Linked DNA regions of Homo sapiens: regions 1, 3 and 4 are each linked to region 2. Evidence: promoter capture Hi-C in human tissues and cell types (Jung and others, 2019). All regions are on one chromosome and are shown on one strand. The core of a region is centred on a gene start or on the middle of the fragment in contact, and the rest is flanking DNA. Distances in the headings are between cores, read along the strand shown. Region 1 has its middle 160 kb from the start of MCHR2-AS1. Region 2 holds the start of PRDM13 (PR/SET domain 13). Region 3 overlaps USP45 (ubiquitin specific peptidase 45). Region 4 has its middle 180 kb from the start of MCHR2-AS1.

Region 1 (2,839 bases), core at 208-2,707, 230 kb after region 2:
ATTTTGAAGAAGTGAATGAGCCTTATTTTAATGTGTAATTAGTGGATTTATCACAGTCCAGATGCTAATCTAGTTTCAAAAGTAAATAAACTATTCATTCAATACAAATAGTTGTATTTTAGCACTTTTCTACCATGTCCTAGTGAGGACAAAAAAACCTTTAATTTTAATTTCAGTTACTCATGAATATTACCAAAATGTTAACCTCTGAAGGATGCCTGCTGTTGGCATGCTAAGACCTAACATGGAGCTCTGACGATCTCCATGTCTGACAATTTCAGTTTTGATTGAAAAACCTGAAGGCAAGGCCTACAGTAAGGCCATTTCTGTATGTTTAGCTACAATGATAGTTTGTTTATATGGGTATAGGACTAAAATGTTTCCTCAGCAAAACTTGTATAAGAGATGTACGTACAGATCCTTATCAATTCGGAAATCAATCCAATTTAGAAAAATGTTGCCTTTGGTATAAATCTTTATATATACACACACATACACACATATACATATACACATACATACATACATATATGAACATAATTTATATATATTAGTTTAATATATATGCATACGTGCATATATAAAATAATATATGCATATATTTAGCAATATGGCATGTTTTATCTGAAATGCCAGAAGAGTAGTTTTCTGTTTCAATGAGATTTGAAAAAGAAATATGTATATATGAATGGTAAGTGGTCTTTCTTTCCTTCTACAACTTCTTTTCTATTCCTCCATACTCCCCAAAGGGGGTGCTAATCTGACCAGATTTTAGGACTTGGACTGGGTCATATTTACCAGAGGCATGCTGTGTTGAAAGAGAATGTGTCCTTGTTCAGCCTTACCTTCTCTTCCTATTGCCTTCAGACCAAGGACCCCTTGGGCCCTAACTATTCCTGCTCTTTTTCCTCTTTCAAAAACATTTAATTAATTATTTAATTTATTTTTTGAGACAGGGTCTCCCTCTGTCTCCCAGGCTGAGTGCAGTGGCTCAATCATGGCTCATTGTATCCTTGAACTCCCAGACTCAAGTTATCCTCCCACCTCAGCCTTCTTAGCAGCTGGGACTACTGGCATGTGCCACCACATCTGACTAATTTTTTTTTTAGAAGGAGTCTCGCCCTGTTGCCCAGGCTGGAGTGCAGTGGCCCAAACTCGGTTCACTGCAACCTCCACCTTCTGGATTCAAGTGATTCTCCTGTCTCAGCCTCCCGAGTAGCTGGGACTACAGGTGCATGCCACCATGCCTGGCTAATTTTTGTATTTTTAGTAGAGATGGGGTTTCACCGTGTTAGCCAGGATAGTCTCGATCTCCTGACCTTGTGATCTGCCCACCTCGGCCTCCCAAAGTGCTGGGATTACAGGCATGAGCCACCGTGCCCAGCCACCTGACTAATTTTTGTATTTTTTACAGAGATGAGTCCTTGCTTTGTTACCCAGGATGGTCTCGAACTCCTGGATTCAAGCGATCCTCCTGCCTTGACCTTCCAAAGTGCTGGGATTATAGGCATGAGCCACCACGCCTTGCCTGCAAAAACACTTAGGTGCTTGGGAATTCTTGCTGCTTCAGGCTGTGGTTGATGATAATATCGATATTTAATAGGGAGAGGGAAGCCCTGCTTTGGCTCAATGCCTAACCCAGGTACTTCAGCCCAGAATTATTATAGATCCCTGTGCTGGGAGCCCTCCCCACTCAGCTAACTAATAAGAGAGTGACAATTCAATTTTCCATGAACCTGGGATGAGAAGGATTGTGTTGGCCAAGGCAGGATTGATTTCCACCCTTGGAATATAATACCGTTGCGGCCTCACTTGTGCTTTCAGATGAGGAAATTAATATTGTGATTTTGTTAAAATAATATTCTAAGACTTTTTTTGTGAAAATATGTTTCTTTGCTTCTAGATTATCACCATAGCTTAAATTAAATATCTCAGATAGATAGTAAGTAGCATTAAATACTAAACCTTTATGGACTTAAGTACTGGAGCAGATGTATTCTGATTAATCCCTTGATTTTAAACAATTATTATTTTTTTAATCTTGATGTTGCAGATATCTGGGATACTGTGCCACAGGGATGGATTTTCATGGATGCTGTCTGCAGTATAGTTTCCTATGATTTTATTATTTGTATCAGTGGGTATTGTAAAAGGGTGAATAGTAACTTCCAATTCTGGCAATATAATGGAATAGTCAAAAAATTCTTCAACCATGAAATGCTGCAAAATGCTGGATAAACATAAAAAATACAATTTGAATTCATGGCTCAGATAGCAAAAATTTGAGGGGAAACTGAGAGCAAAAGCTTGAATTCAAAGAAGTAAATAGGCTGGGCGTGGTGGCTCATTCCTGTAATCTCAGCACTTCGGGAGGCTGAGGCTGGAGGATCACTTGAGGCTAGGAGTTTGAGATAAGCCTGGGCAACATGGCAAGACACTGTCTCTACAAAACAAATAATAAGTTAGCCTGGCCAACTTGGTGATGTGAGTCTGTGGTCCCAGTTACTCTGGCTAGAAGTTGAAGAGGGAGGACCATTTGAACCTGAGAGGTCAAGGCTGTTCTGAGCCGTGATTGCATCACTGCACTCAAGTCTGGGCGACAGTGAGAACCTGTCTCAAAAAAAAAACAAAACAAAAACCAAAAAAAAACAAAGGAAAGAGAAAGAAAGAAAGAAAAGAAAGGAAAGAAAAAGAAAGAAAGAAAGACAAGAAAGGAATGAAAAGAAAGAAAGAAAAGAAAGGAATGAAAAGAAAGAAAGAAGTAAAAAAGAAAAAAGAAAGAAAAAGTGATGTTGCTCTAAGGGCACTTGCTGATTCTGAATGGGCACTGGCTTTGATT
Region 2 (2,800 bases), core at 1-2,500:
ACCACTCAGGCCTCTCTTGGAAGAACTGCATCGGGCTCCGGTGCTGGCTGCATAGGATTTGGGGAGCTGTGCTCAGAACTAGCAGCACGCGGCAGGTGCCGGCAGAAATCACAAATATCTGATGAACTTGATTACTTGGCTACTATTTATGAAAATAAATGTTCTCACGCCAATTGGAGGCTTCCCTAAAAGAAAACGGGTAGCTCTCCGGTTTAACTCTGAAGTACAACGTCTTGTTAGTTCACAAAGTAGGTGTAAGAAAGAGTTGTCCCAAACGCCCACCTCGCCCCTCTTCTCTACAACCTTTAACAGATTGCGGTGATTTTCGTTTTTGTTTACTGTTTTTTTTTTAATAGAAAAGTCCAGGTTGCTGGTTTTAGGGAAGTTAGTCCAAGGACATCTTCTAGGGGACGTGATCAATAACCCACTGGTAGAACTTCTTCCTCTTCAACCCTGGGCTGCGGACCGGGGCGCAGGATCCCCATTCGAAACTGTTGGTTCTGGGGCTGTTTCCCATTCTCCAGAGAAAGTGCAGGCCCGGGGTGTGCCCGAGAAAAGTGATGAGCAGTTGACCTCCCCTTCTCAACTTGGTCTGGAGGCTTCATCATATTTTCGGACGAAATGGGACAGAAGTGAGAATTAAAGCGGTTCTGAATAGACGACTGGCCTGAACCCAATCCCCTGAAATGGTAATATGGTTGTTATTTAAAAAGTGTAGGTATTTTCTGGTGTTTTCCCATCAAGTACCTGCCTAATTTCTGTATGGCACACGCCAGAAATCAATAGTAGTTAACAAGTCCTCCAAACAGTCTCCATCTCTTTGTTTAATCTCCTTTACAATAAAGCCAAGGGGAGAGAATTAAAAATCTTTGAAGTAGATCAAGGCTCAAAGGAATCAGCCAAGTAGACTTAAAGTAGTCACTTATTTCCCAAAACTGGTTTGTCGGGGAACAATAAAAGGAAGTAAAATTTATGGAGAAATTATACAGTGGATTTGTCACTTAAAATATCGTAACTGTCTGGAGGACAATACCCCATGCTGAGGATTAATGGTCCCGCCGGACCTTTGATTCACCAGTGCCTTTTCTTCGCCCTTGACAAATTGGATTTTTAGGAATGGGAAGGTCGCCTGGACCATTGTGTGCTAGCCATTCAGCGGCCTCGATTATGCAGGGGGCTGAGGGAACCACTCCATGTGACCCTCTCGGGTGGGACTCTGCAGCTGCTTCGCAGCGCAACTCTCTCACCAAACTCCGCGCCCTTGCGCTAGCGGTGCCAAAAGGCTCCCGCCCCGATTGAAAAGGCGCAGTGCATGCCCGCCCGCGTCACTCCGCGGGCGGAGGACGCACGTCGGGGCGCGGCTCTCTGGCTAGCGCGCAGCTCCAGCTCTGTCACTCGCGCCCTTCCAAGGACCTGGAGCACCCGAGCGCCTGCCTGGTGGCGGCGGCAACAATGCACGGAGCCGCCAGAGCGCCAGCCACCAGCGTGAGTGCCGACTGCTGCATCCCGGCCGGCTTGCGCCTCGGACCGGTGCCTGGTACCTTCAAGCTGGGCAAGTACCTGTCAGACCGCAGGGAGCCCGGGCCTAAGAAAAAGGTATTGACCATTCAGACCTCTGCCCACTGCCATTCGCCTCTCAGTGCCCTGACCCGGGAAAGGGGTACGAGAGAAAGTGGAGGAAGGGAGTGATTGAGTCGTTACCTGCTAATTCTGCCGGGTGGAAGGGGACTCCTATTATTCTGAGCAAGTAGCCTCTTTAACTGTGAGAGCTGGACGGGGTCGGGCTGAGAGGAGAGGATGTGGCCGAGAGGCGACAGCCCTGGGTGGGGTGCACTGAGCGCTGTAGGTGCCGGGACCATTCGCAGCTTGTGTTTTCCCCTGCGCTCTCGGGTCTCCTCAGTCAGAAGCCAGAAGCCCACCCCCGCACGCTGTCCGCAGCTCTCTCTGCAAAAGCACCCTCTTTCTGGGGGCTCAGGGCATCGAGACCCTTTCTTCCCTTCTGCCCTTCAATATGTTAATTTGAGGCCTAATTTCGCCTTAAAGTAATTTTTTTTCCTGAAAAAAAAAATCTTTGGGAGGCTCTCAGTTCCTAGAACCTCCTCAGATATTTTTTTTTCCCTTGCCGATGTCGGCTTGTGGGTATGCGGCATATGGAGAGAGGATGAGCAAGGTACTGGCTCTGACGCGGGCTCCAAGGGCGAGGCGCGCCCATTCGCGCGGGGCACAGGGTCAGAGCGTCTGCAGCGGGGCTCTGAGAGTCCAGAGGCCCAACCGGGAGGCGCCAGGGCCAAACCACTAGCTTTGACTCCCACACTCCACACACCGTCGCGACCCCTGACCAGAGAGACTTATAGCACTCGCCCGCTTTGGGGGCGTCCCAGGAGCCAAAGGTCGGCAAACAGCGACCGGGAAATGAAGGCAGAAGTCTGGGGTAGAAGAAAGGACTTTGGCTTCCTTGGCTTTAGCTTGCCTTGCTTGGAGCTTTCTAGTAAAAAGCTCCGGTGTCCAGCCAGCGGGACTTGCACCTCGCTCCTCCTGCAATCACGCCCCCCACTACAGTCTAAAGCGGGGTTTGGTGCCCACCGCGCATTCCTCTTTAAACGCGTTTTAATTGCTTTTAAATGGCCTGCCAGCTGCGGGCAAGCTTTTCCCCGCTTGGGCTTTGTTCCGAGACTTTAGCTGCAGGGCTCACAGGCAACTAGGTGCGATGCACACAGAATACAGGAGGCATGAGATAATTTTTTTGTTTGTTTGTCGGGGGTACGCTCTGGGCCCTGGGACTGACCTAGAAATGTCTCTA
Region 3 (3,073 bases), core at 566-3,065, 160 kb before region 2:
TATTAAATACCATTTCTCTCAGATCCATTTCCTAAGCCTACTGAAACTAAGATCACTAGAAGATATACTAAAAAATAGTTCTATTTTAAAAGTAAATCTTCACACAAGAAACTAACAACAGTGTAACAGAGGCTATTTGTGGGGAAGGAAATAGGACTTTTGTAGAACAGGGCTATGAGGGAGACTTTTTTCTTTAAAAGAAAAATCTCTTTTAGAGACAGCATCTTGCTCTGTTGCCCAGGCTAGAGTGCAGTGGCACAATCACAGCTCACCGCAGCCTCAAACTCTCGGACTCAAGTGATCCTCCCACCTCAGCCTCCCATGTAGTTACTACTACAAGTATGTACCACCATACCTGGCTAATTTTTTAATTTTTTGTAGAGATAAAGTCTCGCCATGTTGCTTAGGCTGGTCTTGAACTCCTGACCTCAAGCAATCCTCCCACCTTGGCTTCCCAAAGGAGACTTTTCAGTTACTGTATAAGCCTTTCCATACTTGTTCATTTTTAAACACTGAAAATGTATCTGTTTTTTAAACAAATTAAAAAGTAACAAAAGTAAACTATAAACTATTATGACACAGTGTTGCTTGGTTGCCATAGATCTGGAAGAAAATTACGGGAAAAAAATAACCTAAGTTTGGGAAGGGGGGAATCAACTAATTAAAAATTTTAAGCTACCTGAAATGTTTCACTAAAGTTTCCACACAGCTGATGGCTTGAAGTACATTTTTCTTTTCCTATACCTTGGCTGAAGGGTCAAGACAAAAAATAAAGAAAAGACTATCATGAGTAATTGATACTCAGTTTTAGTTATTCAGGGGAAGAAGAGTAAGTTATAAAAAGTGTCTTGCCTCAATTTTTTTTATCTGCAAAATCAGGAAAAATAACATTAGCCAACAAGTTCCACTCCGCTGAATTTATATAGTACTTTTTTTTGGAAACAAACTTTCCTATTATACATATAATACTAACAGTTGGTAAACAAAGCGGCCGGCCAGGAAGCTCGAACTGGGTGGAGCCCACCACAGCTCAAGGAGGCCTGCCTGCCTCTGTAGACTCCACCTCTGGGGTCAGGGCACAGCCCAACAAAAGGCAGCAGAAACCCCTGCAGACTTGAATGTCCCTGTCTGACAGCTTTGAAGAGAGTAGTGGTTCTCGCAGCACAGAGTTTGAGATCTGAGAACGGACAGACTGCCTCCTCAAGTGGGTCCCTGACCTCCGAGTAGCCTAACTGGGAGGCACCCCCCAGTAGGGGCACACTGACACCTCACACGGCCGGGTACCCATCTGAGACAAAGCTTCCAGAGGAACGATCAGGTAGCAACATTTGCTATTCAGCAATATTCGCTGTTCTGCAGCCTCCGCTGCTGATATCCAGGCAAACAGGGCCTGGAGTGGACCTCCAGCAAACTCCAACAGACCTGCAGCTGAGGGTCCTGACTGTTAGAAGGAAAACTAACAAACAGGACATCCACACCAAAACCCCATCTGTCAGTCACCATCATCAAAGACCAAAGGTAGATAAAACCACAAAGATGGGGAAAAAACAGAGCAGAAAAGCTGAAAATTCTAAAAATCAGAGCGCCTCTCCCCTTCCAAAGGAACACAGCTCCTCGCCAGCAACGGAACAAAGCTGGACGGAGAATGACTTTGACGAGTTGAGAGAAGAAGGCTTCAGATGATCAAACTTCTCCTAGCTAAATGAGGAAGTTCGAACCCAATGCAAATAAGTTAAAAACCTTGAAAAAAGATTAGACAAAGGGCTGACTAGAATAATCAGTGTAGAGAAGTCCTTAAATGACCTGATTGAGCTGAAAACCATGACAGGAGAACTACGTGACAAATGCACAAGCTTCAGTAGCCGATTTGATCAACTGCAAGAAAGGATATCAGTGATTGAAGATCAAATGAATGAAATGAAGCAAGAAGAGAAGTTTAGAGAAAAAAGAATAAAAAGAAACAAAGCCTCCAAGAAATATGGGAATATGTGAAAAGACCAAATCTATGTCTGATTGCTGTACCTGAAAGTGACAGGGAGAATGGAAAACACTCTGCAGGATATTATCCAGGAGAACTTCCCCAACATAGCAAGGCAGGCCAACATGCAAATTCAGCAAATACAGAAAACGCCACAAAGATACTCCTTGAGAAGAGCAACTCCAAAACACATAATTGTCAGATTCACCAAAGTTGAAATGAAGGAAAAAATGTTAAGGGCAGCCAGAGAGAAAGGTCAGGTTACCCGCAAAGGGAAACCCATCAGACTAACAGCAGATCTCTTGGCAGAAACTCTACAAGCCAGAAGAGATTGGGGGCCAATAGTCAACATTCTTAAAAGAATTTTCACCCCAGAATTTCATATCCAGCCAAACTAAGCTTCATAAGTGAACGAGAAATAAAATCCTTTACAGACAAGCAAATGCTGAGAGATTGTGTCACCACCAGACCTGCCCTACAAGAGCTCCTGAAGGAAGCACTAAACATGGAAAGGAACAACTGGTACTAGCCACAGCAAAAACATGCCAAACTGTAAAGACCATCAATGCTAGGAAGAAACGGCATCAACTAACGAGCAAAATAACCAGCTAACATCATGACAGGATCAGATTCACACATAACAATATTAACCTTAAATGTACATGGGCTAAATGCTCCAATTAAAAGATACAGACTGAAAAACTGCATAAAGAGTCAAGACCCATCAGTGTGCTGTATTCAGGAGACCCATCTCACGTGCAGAGACACACATAGACTCAAAATAAAAGGATGGAGGAAGATCTACCAAGCAAATGGAAAACAAAAAAAGGCAGGGGTTGCAATCTTAGTCTCTGATAAAACAGGCTTTAAAACAACAAAGATCAAAAGAGAAAGAAGGTCATTACATAATGGTAAAGGGATCAATTCAACAAGAAGAGCTAACTATCCTAAATATATATGCACCCAATACAGGAGCACCCAATACAGGAGCACCCACATTCATAAAGCAAGTCCCCAGAGACCTACAAAGAAACTTAGACTCCCACACAATAATAATGGGAGACTTTAACACCCCACTGTCAACATTAGACAGAT
Region 4 (2,877 bases), core at 55-2,554, 200 kb after region 2:
CAGCACCACAATCACCAAGGTCAGGCTTACCTTTCTCTTCACTCCCATGTTCAACTGGTCACTCAGTCCTTGTACATCTGCCTTGATTGTTTCCAGGTTGTTTTTCTCTGTTCTCCCCAGGGCTCGCTCATTACCTGGATTGTCCTAATGCCTTCTTACCTGGTCTTTCTATTTCTGGTCTCTTTCTTCAAATAGTTCTGCTTTTTATTTCAAATCAATCTGCTAAAACATCACTTTCATTGTTTCTTGCCTCAATTTAAAAAATGCCACTTCCCCCATTTTTCTGCAAGACCCCTCATCTAGATTTTAAGTTCCTTCACAGGCCATCAAATTTTTCAAATTTACTTCTAACCACTCACTCCTCAATATAAAGGCTCTATCCATTTAGAAGAATAGAACCAAGCTAAAAAGCTGGGGGAAAGTTCAGATGTGATTGAGAGTTTGATGACAGATTTTGTGTGTGTGTGCGTGTGTGTGTGTGTGTGTGTGTGTGTGTGTGTGTGTGTGTGTATTCATTCCCTTTGGGTGTTCCTAAATCTCCTGAAGCTTTTATTGAGAAGCCCATTCTAGGATGTTTTACATTTGAGTCCCTGAACATGACTTGTTCATATTATCTTCTTCCCTCCCCTCTGAGATTATTTCTGTTAATTGTATCACCAACCTCATCATCCAGCTAGAAATCAAGCCATCCTCTTTAACTTGTCTGTATCTCTTACCTGTCACCTCAACCACTTGTTGCATCCTGGTTTATTCTATTGTGCAACATCTCTCACATACGTTGCCTCCTGTCTGTTCATTTGTGCTGTCTTTCACAACCTTCCATTTTTCTACTATAAGCTTTTGCAGCTAGATTTCTAGCTCATCCTGTATCTATAGATAAATTTGTTCCCCACTCTTGCTTTCTGTACCATATGCTGTTTTCAGATTTATTTTCATAAAACTTCTACTCAGACCCCATTGCTTGCTCTTCAGGGAATTCTCACTGCCTGAAGAATAAAATCCAAACTTCTGGGATTAAAGTTCTTCCACAGCCCGAGCCTGTTACCAGTGGCGAATCTGACAGGTCTGCCGCAAACCTGACCCTTGCCTCCTTGGAGGAAATAATTTGGCTGAGGAGCAGAAGTAGGTTTCAGGTAGAGAGAGAGACCTAAGCAAATTTTAGAGCAGGAGTGAGTTTATCAAAAAGTTTTAGAGCAGGAACAAAAGGAAGTAAAGTACACTTGGAAGAGGGTCAAGAAGGTGACTTAAGAGATGCAAGTGTCCTGTCTGGCCCTTGACTTGGGGTTTTGTACATTGGCATGGTTCCAGGGTTTATGTTTCTTCTCCCTTGATTCTTCCCTTGGAGCGAGCTGTCTGCATGTGCAGTGGCCTGCCAGCACTTGGGAGGGGCCACATGCACAGTGTGCTTACTGAAGCTGTACAGCACACTTTAGGTGTTTTTTTCTTACCAGTCTAGTGTTCCTAAAGGAGGGTCATGTACTGGTTAAATGCTGCCATTTTGCCTCTTAGCGTACATGCTTGAGCCCACTCATCCAGCTCCTGAGATCTTATCAGGAAGCTGCTGATCACCAGCTTCAGGTGTTTACTACCTACTGGGAGACTCTGTTTCCCTGGTGCTGGTCATGACCAATTATTATTTTACAGTGGTTGTTTAACAGCCACCTGACCATCACCTGATGGTTGCCTGACATTCCTGGGGGTGGGGCCTCTCCTGCCTTGCTCATGTCTGCCTAATTACCTGCTCTAAGAAGCCTGCCCTAACATTCCTGTCCTATCTCCCATGACATTCCTGGCCTAACTAAGAAATGGGCATAATTTCTTGAACATGTCCTATATGTTTGCTTGCGCTATTTCCTCTGCTTGGATTTCCCTTTTTGCCTTCTGTGCCTGACGTAATGCTACCCGTTTTGGGCCCAGCTCAAATATTACCTCCTCCCTAATACTTTCTATCACCTCTTCCTCTGTTTGAATATTTAACTGTTTGAATATTAACACTCTCTTAACTGTGGCAAGTATAGCATTTTCCATATTCAACAGTTGTAAGGATTTTATATAGATGTTATCTGAGCTAGACTTACAAAGCTACCACAAGGCAGAGACTTACCTTAACCATCTGAACATCCCCAGGTCCTGGCATGATTCCTTGCATGTAATCACTGAATATGTGAACATGCTCCTGCCTTGACAGCCTTCCTCTTGCTGATACATTTTCCTGGAACTCTTGCTTTTAACCTCTCTAGGTCTCTAAATACTTAAAGACTTTAAAGGATCAATTATGATTCTTTGTTTCAGACAATTTCTTCTTAACTAGTAATCTTATCTGTGAATATGTATATTCATTGTTGTCTGTGTTATTCTCTTAGAACTTAACAAATTGCTCCTTTGTATTATTAAAAATGTTTATTTTGGGTATGATGGGCAGGGAGTGAGGAGGGAGGTCACAGTTTGAATTCAAATGCAATTTAGCTATGTTCATGCAAATCCAGTGGGAATTAGGGGTAGATATGATCATACCAGAGCGGCTGACAACTCTGAAATCTTTAGGGCTGACCAGCAGGCTAGAGACTCAGGAAAGAGTGGATGTTGTAGCTCAAGTCCAAAAGCAGTCTGGAAGCAAAATTCCCACTTCCTTGGACAACCCTAACCTTTTTCTCTTAAAGGAGTTATTATCTATTATCATAAGAACTCCTGTTTATCTTGGGTGATAACCTATTCTAAGTAAAAAGTAGTGCTTAGCTTGACCCAGGAAGAAAGCTTTAGTTGTCAAGGGCATGAACTTGGTTACAGCTTGGGTGTTATTTCAAATCACTAAGTGGTATGTGAGGACTTCACTTTGTCTTTGGAGGTATTCATGGAAGCAGTGGAGTTCTGCAGGAA

What was found. Contacts are between HindIII fragments. The study calls those that stand out against the background at their distance.
Region 1: a contact is called between a fragment that was not itself captured here and the fragment with the promoter of PRDM13 in region 2, in 1 of the 25 tissues and cell types used here (mesendoderm cells).
Region 3: a fragment that was not itself captured here is called in contact with the fragment with the promoter of PRDM13 in region 2 in 1 of the 25 tissues and cell types used here (adrenal gland).
Region 4: a contact is called between a fragment that was not itself captured here and the fragment with the promoter of PRDM13 in region 2, in 1 of the 25 tissues and cell types used here (mesendoderm cells).

Annotation. Positions count from the first base shown.
Region 1 is chr6:99,830,519-99,833,357 of GRCh38, forward strand. No RefSeq gene overlaps it. Among named protein-coding and RNA genes, the nearest start is that of MCHR2-AS1, 160 kb to the right of the region's middle. The HindIII fragment of the contact is 3,906 bases long and covers 1-2,839 here.
Region 2 is chr6:99,605,583-99,608,382 of GRCh38, forward strand. It overlaps PRDM13 (PR/SET domain 13), which reads left to right and starts at 1,251. Exons shown (of 4, transcript NM_021620.4): 1 at 1,251-1,596. The coding sequence starts at 1,453. The HindIII fragment of the contact is 8,735 bases long and covers 1-2,800 here.
Region 3 is chr6:99,446,548-99,449,620 of GRCh38, forward strand. The region is part of intron 13 of USP45 (ubiquitin specific peptidase 45); the gene reads right to left. Among named protein-coding and RNA genes, the nearest start is that of PNISR, 23 kb to the left of the region's middle. The HindIII fragment of the contact is 3,023 bases long and covers 305-3,073 here.
Region 4 is chr6:99,809,735-99,812,611 of GRCh38, forward strand. No RefSeq gene overlaps it. Among named protein-coding and RNA genes, the nearest start is that of MCHR2-AS1, 180 kb to the right of the region's middle. The HindIII fragment of the contact is 3,232 bases long and covers 1-2,877 here.